3 separate regions of the Homo sapiens genome follow, and all the other regions are linked to region 3. Evidence: promoter capture Hi-C in human tissues and cell types (Jung and others, 2019). All regions are on one chromosome and are shown on one strand. Each heading gives the region's core, a stretch centred on a gene start or on the middle of the fragment in contact. The rest is flanking DNA. Distances are from core to core; before and after follow the strand shown.

Region 1 (3,192 bases), core at 285-2,784, 36 kb before region 3:
CTTACTGCAACCTCCGCCTCCCGGGTTCAAGCAATTCCCCTGCCTCAGCCTCCCGAGTAGCTAGGACTATAGGTGCGTGCCACCACACCCAGCTAATTTTTGTATTTTTAGTAGAGACGGGATTTCACCATGTTGGCCAGGATGGTCTCGATCTCTTGACCTTGTGATCCACCTGCCTCAGCCTCCCAAAGTGCTGGGATTACAGGCATGAGCCACCATGCCCGGCCAGTAAAACAGCCTTTTTAACCTTGTGTGTAATACTTTCCACCTAACCCATAAAACATGTGAGGATATGACATTATCCTTGGCACATAGTAGGTACCTAGAAAATTTGTAAAAAATAATTTGTCATGTTTGGCTTTCAAATGTAGGAATACTAAATATGATATTTGAAAATGATGTTTGTACTTAAGGAATTTTTAATAAGAAACACAAACATAACAAAAACACTATAGAGGATTTATGGAAACATCACCACAAAGTAGTGACATAATTCCTACATGTTCTTTAAGAAATTTACTTTAAATGATTGCTGCACATTTGCCTGTCCAGAACTAAAGTTAAATTATCCTGGTGGCTGCTGTCTGGTGATAATTTCTTAGTGCCAGGAAGCTGGTGAGTATGTGATTAAACATGTTTCCCCCTTAGCTCCACCCTAGATGCTATCAGGTTTGCTAACCAGAAGGTTCTGCAGCTGACCAGCTCATGCGCACACTCACACACACACACTCTCTCTCACACACACACACACCTCCCTAAGAAAACAAATTTTCACAAGAGTAATTACATACAAATTCTAAATCTCTAACCTGTACTTTTAAGCTCATCATCTTCACAATTCAGCACAAATAAATTTAAAGCATGGGATGAAAATAAATCAAAATTAGCCATTTTCATGACTTCAAATAGGTAAGTATTTTAAACTTTTAACTGATAATGTCACTAAAATACTAACTAGCCTGTCAATTGACTGAAAGTTTCTAAACCATTCCTAACTACTGTTCCTAGATAGACCCCGGACTCTCTTCATCTTCTGCCCTGATGACCCTTCAACTCTGAACTACTCTGCTACAATAGAGGAAGCATTTACAGGGAAAACACTACAACATGAAACACGAAGGCTTGACAGATTTTCCTTTTCTCATTTTATTCAAGTTCGGCAAATGTCTAATAGGTTGATTCCCTGCATAAGTAATTTTCCCAAAAGATAGTATCTTTCTAATTGGGAAATGAAGAAGCCTCCCGATAAAGTCTACAACATTGCTGAAAGTTAGAATCACATGCAATCAGTCCAGCCACTGAGAAACACTTCAACTGACCCGCATGAAAAATGCCCATCTAGCTCTGTGACCTTAAACTAGTAACTTTACCTCTGTGGACTTCAGTTTCATTTGGTGATTTGTCTCTTTTAACTACAATATTTCAAAATGGGTTTTGATATCCGGTGTGGAAAGTCCCCCCGAGTTCTTTTCCAAATTTTCTTGGCTTTATGTATGTTTATAAGTCCAGCTGACTTATAGATTAGCTTGTCAAATTCTGTTTAAAGTACTTGGGAATTTTTATCAGAATTTCATTTAATGTTTAATTTGGAGAAAAGAGACTTTACAATATCTATCCACAGAAATACAATCTGTATCTCCATTTACTTGGTATTTTCTTTCTTTTTTTTTTTTTGAAGCAGGGTCTTGCTCTATCACCCAGAATGAAGTGCAGTGGTGTGATCACGGCCCACTGCAGCCTCAACCTCCCAAGCTCAAGTGATCCTCCCACCTAAGCCTCCAGAGTAACTGGGACTACGGGCACACATCACCATGTCCAGTTAATTCTTTGGGTTTCTTTTGTTGAGACAAGGTCTTGCCATGTTGCCCAGGCTGGTCTCGAGCTCCTGGGCTCAAGCAATCCATGCATGTCGTCCTCTCAAAGTGCTGGGATTACACACATGAGCCACTGCACCAGACCTATTCAGGTCTTTTCTGTCCTTCAGAATGCAGTATTCTTCAAGCTGTTCTTGCAAATTTGTTTTTCATTGCTGTCAAGAATGGTATCTGTTTTTTATTATGTGTTCTAATTGATTAGTACAGGGTGAGAATCCCTTATGTGAAATGACTGGGACCAGATGTGTTTCAGATTTTGGAATATTTCCATATTTTAAAAATAATGAGATATGTTGGGGATGGGAACCAAGTCTAAACACAAAATTCATTCGCTTCATATACACCTTATAAACATAGCCTGAAGGTAGTTTTATAAAACATTTTTAATACTCATGTGCATGAAAACCAAGTTTTGACTGAAACCTGTCACATGAGGTCAAGTGTGGAATTTTCCACTTGTGGTACGTCAGTGCTCAAAAAGCTTCAGATTGTGGGGCATTTTGAGATTAGAAATGCTCTCTACCTGTACTACTTTCCTATGCTGACACACACACACACACACACACACACACACACATTTTTGAGATGCAATCTCACTCTGTCGCCCAGGCTGGAGTGCAATGGCATGATCTTGGCTCACTGCTACCTCTGCCTCCCAGTTTCAAGCGATTCTCCTGCCTCAGCCTCCTGAGCAGCTGAAACTACAGACGTGCACCACCATGCCCGGATAATTTTTGTATTTTTAATAGAGATGGGGTTTCGCCATGTTGGCCAGGCTGGTCTTGAACACCCAACCTCAGGTAATCCACCCACCACAGCTTCCCAAAGTGCTAGGATTATAGGCCTGAGCCATTGCGCCCAGCCATATTTTTAAAAATAAAATTAAAACCCTGTGATTTTTGTGTTTTTCTCATCTGGACATCTTACTGAAGTTTATTAGTTCTGTTTTTTTTTTTTTTTCAACTGATAATCTTGGATTTTCTATGCAGATGATGACATTTACAGCAAATGATAACAGGGGCCTATCTTTAAAAGGACAAGCAAAAAGACTAGGGAAAATATTTCTAAAATATATTAAAGACAAAAACAATCAATGTTTACAACGTATAAAGAGTGCCAAGGCCAGGAGCGGTACTCATGTGCATGAGTACCTGTACCACTAAAACAGATTTGGGAGGCCGAGCATTTTGGGAGGCTGAGGCGGATGGATCACTTGAGGTCAGGAGTTTGAGACCAGCTTGGCCAACATGGTAAAACCCAGTCTCTACTAGAAATACAAAAATTAGACAGGCCTGGTGGCACATGCCTGTAGCCCCAG
Region 2 (3,024 bases), core at 66-2,565, 54 kb before region 3:
GCACATTGGGAAGGAGGATTGCTTGAGGCCACAAGTTTGACACCCGCCTTAGTAATAGAATGAGACCCCGTCTCCAAAAAATAAAATAAACAAATGGTTAGGATGGTAAACTTTTGTTTTGTGTACTTTACTGCAGTTGATTGATCGAATGACTGATTGATTGACTGACTGACTGATTGATTGTAGAGACGAGGTCTCACTATGTTGCTCAGGCTGGTCTTGAACTCCTGGCCTCAAGTAATCCCGCCTCAGCCTCCCAAAGTGCTGGGATTACAGGCGTAAGCCACTGCACCTGGCTTTAATTTTTTTTTAATTATAAAAAATAAGCACAGCCTGGGCAACATGGTGAAACCCCGTCTCTACAAAAAATACAAAAATTAGCTGAGCAAAGTGGTACATGTCTATATTCATACCTACTCAGGAAGCTGAGGTAGGAGGACTGCCTGAGCCAGGTCAAGGCTGCAGCGAGCAGTGATGGTGCCACTGCATTCCAGCCTGGGTGACAGAGGGAGACCCTTTCTCAAAACAAAAACAAAACAAAAGGAAAAAAAAAAGTCAAAAAACGGGCAATTAGCAAGAGGGAAGCAAGAGGGGGTGTGGGGGAGCCAAACTCTAAGAAAGAAGTTTTTCCTCCTAACCTTTAGAAGAATGTATCATCACAATGTCAAAAGATTTGCTCACCGCATTCCTTCTTTGAGACCCTCACTGCAAAGTCAGCCTATTCAAAGTTTCTCGTAGGTGCTAAGCTATGGGTTTCCTTGTAAATCATGAATCAAAGGAAAATATTTTGCTTTATGAACAAAATTACTTTTGTACTTCTTGGAAATTGCCCATTCATGACTTCCCACTCACCTGTAAGATCTGCCAAGAAACATGGAAGAAAGAAAACACATCCTTTCCTTTTGACTTTGATTAAAGAGGTTTGCTTTTAAATGATACTATGAAATGTACGGAGAGCACACACAAAGTTTATCTCCAAACATTATTTCCTGAGCATAGTAACTGACTACAGCTGTTAATTTAGTCTCAAATAAGAACAAAATAACAACTAGTACTGCAGTATCAGAGTATTTTTGACGCTTAAAGGTAAACTCAGATATTCCCCCTCAGCAAACAAACATTTAAAATAAGTCACATCTTCTTGTAATTTCAGTACTTTGGGAGGCCAAAGCAGGTGGATCACATGAGGTCAGGAGTTTGAGACTAGCCTGGACAGCATGGTGAAACCCCATCTCTATTTCTAAAAATACAAAAATTAGCCGGGTGTGGTGGCATGCGCCTGTAGGCCCAGCTACTAAGGAGGCTGAGGCATGAGAGTAACTTGAACCTGGGAGGTGGAGGCTACAGTGAGCTGAGATTGCACCACTGCACTCCAGCCGGGGCTGGCAGAGCAAGGCTATTTCAAAAAAAATAAATAAAAAAAAAGTAAGATCGCATCTTCCTATCTCTCTATATAGATACGATGCGAACTTGATGACAAAAATCATGGGACATCAAGCCTATCTAATAATATCATTATTGCAAAGACAAAGAAAAACATTTATTAAGGTAGAATAATATAATATCTGCATTCAAATGCCTCTCTCATTATGCCCCAGTGTGTTAGAATAAGAGCTAAAGACAGTGATCACACAAAGAATTTAATTCTAGTGCAGAAGTAAATATGGTAATTCTTACATTCCTCAGTTTAGAGGTAGTCAGTTAAGCTTTTGCTTGAGCAAATGTTTCCTCAATCAAGTCACAAGTTTCACGTAAATGGCATTTTTGGCTGCTATTTTTCCTCCTTCCTTGCAGTAATGACCACGTCAACACTTCCTGGTTCCACTTACGGTCAGTCTCCTTCATTGTACAGGGAGGACAGAAGGGAAAAATCCACTTGGTTATACTCTGTACCTGATAAAAGTAATGACTAACCTAAAACATGGAAAGTAAAAGGCCAACACAAGCAATTGGCTCACTCTGTTGCTCGGGCTGGTCTCAAACTCCTGGCTACATAGGTGATCCTCATGTCCTGGCCTCCCAAAGTGTTGGGATTACAGGCATGAGACTGTATTATTTAGAGAACCCTGCTGATTAGCTTATTTTACCAAAAACTACCAGGTTATTTATCAGAGGAAAGGGGAAGATAGGAATGAATAATAAGTAATAAATAGCTATAATTGTGCTCTAAGATGAACTTGCAAAATAGATAAATCATTTCCTAAGTAAAAATAACAACTTTTTTTTTTTCTTTTTTTGAGACGGAGTCTCACTCTGTCACCCAGGCTGGAGTGCAGTAGCACAATCTTGGTCCATTGCAACCTCCACCTCCCAGGTTCAAGTGATTCTCCTGTCTCAGTCTCCTGAGTAGCTGGGATTACAGGCATGTGCCCACCACGCTCGGCTACCTTTTTTTTTTTTTTTTTGAGATGGAGTCTCGCTCTGTCACCCAGGCTGGAGTGCAGTGGCGTGATCTGGGCTCACTGCAACCTCCATCTCCCGAGTTCAAGTGATTCTCCTGCTTCAGCCTCCAAAGTAGCTGGGATTACAGGCAAGCAATATCATGCCCGGCTAATTTTTTTATTTTTAGTAGCGACAGGGTTTTGCCATGTTGGCCAGGCTGGTTTTAAACTCCTGACCTCAGGTGATCCACCTGCCTCGGCCTCCCGAAGTGCTGGGATTACAGGCATGAGCCACCAAGCCCAGCCTAATTTTTGCATTTTTAGTAGAGATGGAGTTTTACCATACTGGCCAGGCTGGTCTGGAACTCCTAACCTCAAATGATCCTGTTGCCTCAGCCTCCCAAAGTGCTGGGATTACAGGCATGAGCCACCACGCCCAGCCAATAACATCGTTTTTAAAAAAGCCTTCAAAGAGTTCAATACAAAATTTTTCTGAAGTAAAGTTATTTTTCCAAGTGGCAGGCTCTGATAAGATCAATTTTAACATTTTGACTTATAATCCCAACAAATCTAGGTCAAAATGCTACATATATCGGCTGGGCGCGGTGGCTCACGCCTGTAATCCCAGCACTTTGGGAGGCCG
Region 3 (3,214 bases), core at 214-2,713:
AGTCATTTGGTAGGATACCACAAATATCCTACTGAATTCTGAAACGTTTGTTCCTGAGTCCGACTCCCCTTCTGACCACATCTACTCAATTTTGTTTCCACCGAAGGAACGCTCCGCAGTCACAAAACTTTCATCATGATTACGGACGCACCACCTAAAATGCATGCTCAGAAGTCAAAGTCCTATGAAAATACCCTCGATGAGCATTTGGTGAATTGCTGCGTTTTTAACCCTCTTACTCTGCTCCCCTCAGCTGCACGGCCCCTAAAATCACAAGCGTTCACCGCCCAGGCTCGGGGTCTTTGACTCAGCAGAGAAGAATGTGGCTGATGAGTTATCTATTAATCCAAAAAACCTCGGCTAGAAAGATATTTCACCAAGAACTTTTAACACGGAAAGGGAGGGGGCAGGGAATAGAGGTATCTTTTAACGAGAACTTTCCCCCGAGTTTCTTCCTTAAACTGCTCCCCCCCCGACCCTGAATCCATACACAATTTCCAGCCCCGGCCCTAAGTCCTGACCCTCCGAGTCCCGATTATCTGAGGTCACCCAGGAGTCAGCTCTCGGTTCCACTTATAAATCCCGGGCAAACAAAGCTGAGCATTATACTTACAAAAGTCTCCGAAAAGTCCTTGGAGTTACGCAATTTGGGGCCCGCAGACGCGCGTGGACACAAAAACACACGCTCCCGAGATCCACCCTCCCCGGGCCACACTGTGGGGCTGCGTCCGGGGCACGGGCCATGCCTGAACCTTCTTCCACCGCCGCGCCCCGGGCCCGCGCCCCGCCGGCCGCCCGCACTGGGTCCCGCGTCGCCCCCGCCACCACACCGAGCCGCCCAGTACCTCCTCCTCCTGAAGGTTGGCCTCGCTCGGGGTGTTCTCCTTCTCGGCTTTGCCGCCGTTGTTCATCTTCCCGGTCCTTCCTCGCCGGGCCGGGCAGGGCTGGGGCGCGGGGCTGGGCGAGGGCGCGCTAGCCCACTGGAGCCTTCCCCGGGCGCCGGGGCTCCCTCGGGCGGGCGCCGCGGGCTGTGGGGCTGGAGCTGGAGCCGGGGCAGTGGCTGTCGGGCTCGGGTTGGGCTGGGGCTCCCGCGGCGAGTCTGCGACGGCGGCGGCGGGCGACTCAGGAAGTGCAAGGGAGAGACGGGGCAGGGCGCGGGCCGGGAGCGGGGCACCGAGACAATCGGGCCCCGGGAGGGCGACCTGGAGAGGGAGGGCGGGAGCCAGGGGAGGAAGGAAGAAGGAAGGAAGGAAGGAAGCAAAGGATGGGGCGAGGACGCGCGTCCCAGGAGTAAGCGCGGAGAGTTGGGGCTGGGGGCTGCAGCCGCTGGAAGGAGGGGACGGGGGTGCCTAGAGAGGAGGAGGAGGAGGAAGAGGAGGAGGAGGAGCGGGGCGGAGGAGCGCGGGCCGCGGCTGGGACGCTGGGACCCGAGAGCCGCTGAGTACGCGCTCCAGGCAGGCTCTGGGAAGTCCGGGATGGAAGCAGCTCCCTTTCTCTCGCCTTCCTCCCTCCCCTCTCCCCTCCCTCCTCTCCGCGCCTCTCCTCCTCCCTCCGCCCTCCCTGGACGTGGGCTGCCGGCTGCAGCCCGGAGGGACGGGGCGCGGGACGGAGCCCCCCGCGGGAGGAGGGGCCGGCGGCCGGATGGCGCGCGCCGGGGAGGGGCAGCGGGCCGCGGGCGGAAGCGGCGACCCCAGCCCCCGACTCAGCGGCTGGTCGGAGGGCGAGGGCCCGGGAGGCCGAGGGCAGGGAGGTCGGGTCCCGCCGTTCCCTTGGCCCCCGGGGGCCCCGGCGTCTGCGCGCCCCGGGACTTCGGGGACCCTGCCCCGCCGGGGCCTGGACCGGGACCTGGGATGTGTGCGACTTTTAGTTTGCCGGCTTTTACCGAGGGATTTGCACCCCTGGCCCTAAGCCCACCCTTCCCGAGCCAGACCCGGTTCTTCCTCTGCTGCTTGAATGACAGCATGAGAACTCGAGGGACACCGGGGACAGCCCACTCCGGGCCGGCTTTTTCAGGACAGGGCTTCAAACCCATCTCCAGCGCGGGTCCTGCGACGCGCCCGGAGCCTTCCCCGCTTCGCTTCCTGAGCGTCCCGCGGCCCCCCGACTCCTCTCCCAACTCTCACCAGACTGTTCTGGGATTGTTTACCTGGCCTCTCCCTCACCCTTCAGAAAGCTCCTTCCTGGAAGAAAAAAAAAAATCCTGCCCTATTTATCTTTTTAATCCCACGGCTATTTAAACGGGCTAAGGGGTATATAGCAGGCACTCAATAAATATTTGTTGGCAAAGTGAATATTCCTTATTGCAGGCAGAGCTGGGGGTCCGTACGGAGGAACTTCAGAGGCTGGAAGCACGCTTGAAAAAGAAAGGGGGCCTGGGCTTTGCACCAGCTTCAGGATTGCGTACTTGTTTCCTCATCCGTGAAATGGGAGCAGCTGAATGTGTCTCCTCGAGTTTTCGAGGTGATTATAGGTTGATAGAGCTATATACAGCACCCAGCATTTATTCTTGCTTCGTTTAGGTTTACAATACATGGAAGCTAACATTATTATTAAGAAAACTTCTATTTTTCCAGGGCCTTAGAAAGCGTTTCCAATACTCGATCATTTAAGCTTATGGTTTTTTGGTTTTTTTTTTTTTTAGAAAAATGAGGGTCTCACTTTGTTGCTCAGGCTGAGCTCGAGCTCCTGGCCTCAAGTGATCCTCCTGCTTTTGGCCTCCCAAACTGATGGGATTACAACGTGGAGCCACCGTGTTAAACTCTTAGATTTGACTGCTACAAAGGTATAAATGTGGAACTCCATATATCAGTGGGTTCTGCCCCACTTCTTCCTCCCAGGAATTCTCCATCCCAGCCTGCTGCTCCTGTCTTGCACCGGTAACAGTTTCCAACTACAGTATTTGCTTAACTGTTTCTCCCCACCCCCACCAGACATTCTTTATACTTGGTTTAAGTGCTGCTGGGGATAGGGCGGGGGTGGCTGTGGGAGTTGCAGATAAGGACCCTCCCTTTAGGGAGTTTAAAGTGGTATGGTGGCTCACACTTGGAATCTCAGCACTTAAGGAGATAGAGGAAAGAGGATTGCTTGAGCCCAGGAGTTCAAGACCTGCCTGGGCAACATAGTGAGACTCTGTTCTCCACAGAGGGGAAAAAAAGAAAAGACAAAAAAATAAAGTGGTATGGAGCCAAGATACTCTCAGAATCCTCTTTCCGAT

Evidence for each region. Contacts are between HindIII fragments. The study calls those that stand out against the background at their distance.
Region 1: a fragment that was not itself captured here is called in contact with the fragment with the promoter of RBPMS in region 3 in 2 of the 25 tissues and cell types used here (bladder and spleen).
Region 2: a fragment that was not itself captured here is called in contact with the fragment with the promoter of RBPMS in region 3 in 1 of the 25 tissues and cell types used here (neural progenitor cells).

The regions. Positions count from the first base shown.
Region 1 is chr8:30,418,710-30,421,901 of GRCh38, reverse strand. The region is part of intron 1 of RBPMS (RNA binding protein, mRNA processing factor); the gene reads right to left. LOC112268025 (a long non-coding RNA gene) reads right to left here. Exons shown (of 2, transcript XR_002956700.2): 2 at 2,027-3,192. Among named protein-coding and RNA genes, the nearest start is that of RBPMS-AS1, 35 kb to the right of the region's middle. The HindIII fragment of the contact is 8,156 bases long and covers 1-3,192 here.
Region 2 is chr8:30,437,172-30,440,195 of GRCh38, reverse strand. The region is part of intron 1 of RBPMS (RNA binding protein, mRNA processing factor); the gene reads right to left. Among named protein-coding and RNA genes, the nearest start is that of RBPMS-AS1, 53 kb to the right of the region's middle. RefSeq lists an enhancer at 1,966-2,501. The HindIII fragment of the contact is 6,276 bases long and covers 1-3,024 here.
Region 3 is chr8:30,382,790-30,386,003 of GRCh38, reverse strand. RBPMS (RNA binding protein, mRNA processing factor) reads right to left here and starts at 1,463. Exons shown (of 9, transcript NM_001008710.3): 1 at 846-1,463. The coding sequence starts at 911. RBPMS-AS1 (RBPMS antisense RNA 1) reads left to right here and starts at 603. Exons shown (of 3, transcript NR_046205.1): 1 at 603-860; 2 at 2,307-2,460. RefSeq lists enhancers at 334-1,005, 1,006-1,676. The HindIII fragment of the contact is 17,890 bases long and covers 1-3,214 here.